2 separate regions of the Homo sapiens genome follow, and region 1 is linked to region 2. The links are contacts of gene promoters, found by promoter capture Hi-C in human tissues and cell types (Jung and others, 2019). All regions are on one chromosome and are shown on one strand. Each heading gives the region's core, a stretch centred on a gene start or on the middle of the fragment in contact. The rest is flanking DNA. Distances are from core to core; before and after follow the strand shown.

What was found. Contacts are between HindIII fragments. The study calls those that stand out against the background at their distance.
Region 1: a contact is called between a fragment that was not itself captured here and the fragment with the promoter of GBA2 in region 2, in 1 of the 25 tissues and cell types used here (spleen).

What each region holds. Positions count from the first base shown.
Region 1 is chr9:35,002,867-35,005,566 of GRCh38, reverse strand. It overlaps the pseudogene LOC100420114. Among named protein-coding and RNA genes, the nearest start is that of DNAJB5, 14 kb to the right of the region's middle. RefSeq lists an enhancer at 1,743-2,243. The HindIII fragment of the contact is 4,415 bases long and covers 1-2,700 here.
Region 2 is chr9:35,747,892-35,750,591 of GRCh38, reverse strand. It overlaps GBA2 (glucosylceramidase beta 2), which reads left to right and starts at 1,364. Exons shown (of 17, transcript NM_020944.3): 1 at 1,364-2,246. The coding sequence starts at 1,888. It overlaps RGP1 (RGP1 partner of RAB6A GEF complex), which reads right to left and starts at 1,305. Exons shown (of 9, transcript NM_001080496.3): 1 at 1,184-1,305; 2 at 721-855; 3 at 213-349. The coding sequence starts at 836. RefSeq lists silencers at 1,016-1,065, 1,096-1,145, 1,266-1,665. The HindIII fragment of the contact is 11,811 bases long and covers 1-2,251 here.

The sequences.
Region 1 (2,700 bases), core at 107-2,606, 750 kb after region 2:
GGTCCTGTTGTGGGGTTTGAGGGCTGGAATTTAATTTTTGGAGTTTTATTTAATGTCGGGAGCAGATTGGGTAATAAAATAAAATGCATATTGAGAATAAGATGGCCTTCTGACCTTTCAGGGTCTAGGGCTGTAAAGCGTCTCAGGGTTGCTGCCAAACGAGCCATGAACTGGGCTGGGTTTCTCATATTTGATGAAAAAGAGCCTAAACGCTAACTGATTTTGGGAGAGGTCGGATAAAGAAAAAGGAGCGTTAACCTTGACTATGCCTTTATATCCAGCCATCTTTTTAAGAGGAAATTGCTGGGCAGGTGGGGGAAGGCTGGTTGAGGAATGAAACTGTAAGCCGGACAAGGTGTGAGGAGGGGAGGTGATAAAAGGATTATAGGGTGGGGGAGCAGAGGCTGAGGAAGAATTGGGACCTGGCTCTGCCTGGTGAGGAGGGGAGAGGTCAGATGGGTCTGTAGAAAAGGAAGATTAGAAAGACTCAGTGATGCTTGGGGTTGGGACTGAGGGGACAGGTGGGAGGGAAAGAAGGAAGATTTGGGACTGGTTGCATTGGGAACAGAGACCAGGGAGGAACCGATGTGTAAAAGAATGCCTGGACGTCAGGCACCTCAGACCATTTGCCTAATTTATGACAAGAATTATTTAGATCTTGTAGGATGGAAAAATTAAAAGTGCCATTTTCTGGCTATTTGGAACTACTGTTGAGTTTGTATTGGGGTCAAGCAGCATTGCAGAAGAAAATAAGATGCTTAGATTTTAGGTCAGGTGAGAGTTGAAGAGGTTTTAAGTTCTTAAGAACACAGGCTAAGGGAGAAGGAGGAGGAATGGAGGGTGGAAGGTTGCCCATAGTGAAGGAAGCAAGCCCAGAGAAAAGAGAGTAGAGACACGGAGGGAAGGGGTTCGGGGGTTCTTACCCTCCAGAAAAGCAGGAAAGGGGTCGGGGCACAGAAATAAGGGGTTGGGGTGCAGAGATAAGAGGTCAGGGTGCGGAAATAAGGGATTGCGGTGTGGAAATAAGGGATCGGGGCACAGAGATAAGAGGTTGGGGTGCGGAAATAAGGGATCGGGGCGCAGAGATAAGAGGTCGGGGCATGGAAATAAGGGATCGGGGCTCAGAGATAAGGGGTCAGGGCGTGGAAATAAGGGATGGGGCACAGAGATAAGAGGTTGGGGCACAGAAATAAGGGATCGGGGGTTCTTGCCCCCAGAAAAGCAGAGAAGGGGTAGAGACACGGAGAGAAGGGGTTGGGGGGTTCTTGCCCCCTAGAAAAGTGGTACTTGCAGCTAAGGGTGAAGGAGAAGGGGTTGGGGGGGTTCTTGCCCTCTAGAAAAGCAGAGGAGTAGAGACATGGAGAGAAGGGGTTGGGGGGTTCTTGCCCCCTAGAAAAGCAGTACTTGCTGCTAAGGGTGAAGGACCAAGGCAGGTGTCCCCATGTGGTCAGACACCTCTGAAACATGGGTGAAAAATCAGAGAGGTGTCCCTGCAATGATTAAACACCAAGGGAAGGCTGCCTTCCTTAGTCCGTGACTGGCGCCAGAGTTTTGGGTCCAAGGATAAAATGTGTCTCCTTTGTCTCTACCAGAAAATGAAAGGAATTGAAAGTAAGAGAGGGAGAGATTGAAGGGTGGCGCCAAGATTGAAAGGAGAAAGTGGTTGAGGGATAGTGAGAGAGGTTGGAGAAGAGAGTAAGAAGAGGCCGCTTACCCGATTTAAAATTGGCGAGATGTTCCTTGGGCTGGTGGGTCTGAGGACCCGAGGTCGTAGGTGGATCTTTTTCACAGAGCAAAGAGCAGGAGGACAGGGGATTGATCTCCCAAGGGAGGTCCTCCAATCTGAGTCACAGCACCAAATTTCATGCGCGTCTGTGTGAAGAGACCACCAAACAGGCTTTGTGTGAGCAACAAGGCTGTTTATTTCACCTAGGTGCAGGCGGGCTGAGTCCGAAAAGAGAGTCAGCCAAGGGAGATAGGGGTGGGGCCGTTTTATAAGATTTGGGTAGGTAAAGGAAAATTACAGTCAAAGGGGGGTTGTTCTCTGGCGGGCAGGGGGGGCGGTCACAAGGTGCTCAGTAGGGGAGCTTTTGAGCCAGGATGAGCCAGGAGAAGGAATTTCACAAGATAATGTCATCAGTTAAGGCAGGAACAGGCCACTTTCATTTCTTTTGTGGTGGAATGTCATCAGTTAAGGCAGGAACCGGCCATCTGGATGTGTACATGCAGGTCACAGGGGATATGATGGCTTAGCTTGGGCTCAGAGGCCTGGCAAGTATAATGTGGCATTTCTGGAAATCAGACTCCCCACCCCGACCCCAAGCTTTGTTGTTGCTATTTGTCATTGTTGTTTGCTTGTGTCGTGACTTTACTAATTGTGTAAATTGTGTATTTTTTTTTGTTGTGTGTGGCCACTGAAGTGTCTGCTTGGCTAGCTTAGCCAAAGACTAGACAGAGGTTTCATTAAGTGATTGCACCCAATGAGTCTACCAGTCTTTGCTGGAGGGGTATATACATAAATTTTTCTGGAACTATTTTAGAGTCACTTGCTGGCATACAGGACAACATAGGCTCCCAACCACTGTGGAGCACCAAAGACAAACCAGAGCAGCTGCACATCCTCAGCAGCTCCCAAATTCCAAAATCTTGGGGGATGGAACCATCTCTCCTGGAGTCTCACCTCTGCACAGTGAGGCCCTG
Region 2 (2,700 bases), core at 115-2,614:
AGTGGAGATAGTGAAAGGCTGCCAGGCCCTCCGTCCCTGCTGTGAAATGGGAATAGTCTTCTACCCCTAAAGCAATAGTCATGCTCCCCAACATCCCCAGCATGACAGGGACTATAAGAACAAGAACAATTAACAACTTCACCCATGGGTGACAATGCCTCCACACACACCCTCCGCACCCCCCCTCTCCCAGGCAAATGCCCCTCTCTAACCTCGGTGTGGCAGAAAGACAGTCTGGCTGTCGGGCTGGACATCTGGCTGACTAGAGTCAGGAGGAGGCAGTGCTACTCGACTCTCACTGGCATGGAACTGGCAGTGGATTTGGGCACTGGCCCAGGCCAGGGCCTCACTGTGGGAAAAGGAAAAGGAGGCATCAGAGGTAGTTCCTGACCTCACAAATGCTTTCCCAAGCTCCCTATCACACCATCTTAACCAACAAGGTTAGATGGCTGTCCTAGTGATCAGGAAATCCACAATCCCAAAGAGAAACCATTAAATAAAGAGTAGCAGACTGTGCGTAAAAAGGGGAACGGGGGAGGGGAAGGAAAGCGTACAGCTATGTCATCCACATCTTCTGTTAAAGAGCCCTCTCCTACAATGACAGCACAGTGAGCAAGAGGAGGTGGTGTCGCTACAGGACAACCTGAGCTCTGCCTCAGCCCCAGAGATAATCTGGCTTCTTCCCAGAAGGGCCACCACCTTCAGTGCCAGCATCCCCACCTGGATGCAGAAGTGGCCGTGGGCGGAAGGGGGTTGGTGACGGTCACTACACACTCCAGCGCCTCCCCAGCCAAAAATACAGGACCCCGGCTGAGCTCTGCTACCACTTCAATCATGGCAGCTCCGGAATCAGATCTAGAAGGAAACAAGGCGGGGCGGAGGTCAGCACCTTGACAGGGAGGGGCGTTGCGGTGAGCACCTAGGGCTGAGGGCTGAGGACAGGGGTGGTCAGCACCGTGGTGCCCGAGGGAGCTCCTGGATATAGGAGGGGTAGGCGGGTGGGAGGGAGGCGACTGAAGACTCAGTACTGCCCAGGGGGAGGACATCGCTCTGGGCCCTAGACCCCAGCCCCTGTGCGACGGGTTCTTCTCCCTGGGCACCCCCGCGGAGTTCCCAAACTGGCCTCCGCTCCCCCTTTCCTCAAAGTTCCACGTCCCAGCCCAAGATCACCGCCGCTAGTCACCTCGCATAGTCGACACTAGGGATCGGCACCCCTAGGCCTCATCTGCCCGCCCCTCAGGGACCTGGCTAGGTACGCGGCGGCGGCGGCGGCGGCGGCGTCCGCTGGGCGGTAGAGGCGGGACTTCCCTTCGGTCCCCCACCCTCCGCGGAGTCCCTTCCGGCCGGAAGCGCCCGGCAGGCCAGACCGGAAAGGGCTCGGGTCATCCCGGCGCCCAGGGTCACCTTCCCACGGGCTGGCACCTGGGCGCGGGCGCTGCCCCGGAGCCGGCCGGCGGGACCTGGCGCCCAATCCTGGGGGACCCGGTGCCGTGGCCCAGGGGCCGGGCCGAGGTCCCGGGGGCGGTGCCTTGCGGGCCCGTCCCGGGGCGGTGCCTGGTGGGCTGGCCCCGCGGCTCCTCCCCTCTCTGCGGGCCCAGTCGCCCTTTGGCCGGGCGAGCTAATCGTCGGCTCAATGACGACGAGGCCCGACCCTTCCCGTCCAGGACCTACAGAGACAACCGAAGGAGAGCCCAAGGCGGCTTCTTTGCTGTCGCCGCCCCCACTGAAGCAAGAGCTCCCCGGCTCCACTGAAACACCAGCTCATTTAAGCTTTCCCCAACGCCCGGCCCTCCGGGACGATACCTAACAACGACCGGCGCCCGCATCTGGAATAGGCTGGCGAGATACTTAGTATCCGAGGGCTCGGGACTTGGCGCCATCGAGGTCATGGGGACCCAGGATCCAGGGAACATGGGAACCGGCGTCCCAGCCTCGGAGCAGATAAGCTGTGCCAAAGAGGATCCACAAGTTTATTGCCCTGAAGAGACTGGCGGCACCAAGGATGTGCAGGTTACAGACTGTAAGAGTCCCGAAGACAGCCGACCCCCAAAAGAGACGGACTGCTGCAATCCGGAGGACTCTGGGCAGCTGATGGTTTCCTATGAGGGTAAAGCTATGGGCTACCAGGTGCCTCCCTTTGGCTGGCGCATCTGTCTGGCTCATGAGTTTACAGAGAAGAGGAAACCCTTTCAAGCTAACAACGTCTCCCTAAGCAACATGATAAAGCATATAGGCATGGGCTTGAGGTGAGTAGACCCCATTGCCTAGAATGCCTTTGGCTTCACTTTGTTCCAGCTCAAAACTTCTAGCAGAGGTGGGAAAGGGCAAGAAAGCAGTTGGGCTTCTTGTCTGAGTGAAGCGGTCCCTATCCCTGGCATATTTTAGGCCTGTGGTTTTGGACCGTGAGACCAGGTCACATCTCTTTGCAACACCCTTCCCTCCCAGTGTTTTGTCTTTTCAGAAGGAAAGGGTAGGAACATTTGGTCATGCAATCAGCCTTTCCCATTCAGGCTCTTCTCACATACTGGTTTCCAATGACTTCCCTTTGGGATTAGCTATACTTTGTGGCAAGGTAGGAAAGGATAATCTGGCTGCTGTGATACTAACACAATGTTGTTTTATTTGGGGGTGGGGGGGTCTCAACCCCTTATTTCCCACAAGCAGCTGGGGCATTCTCTGTACCTCATTAGACACACTGTT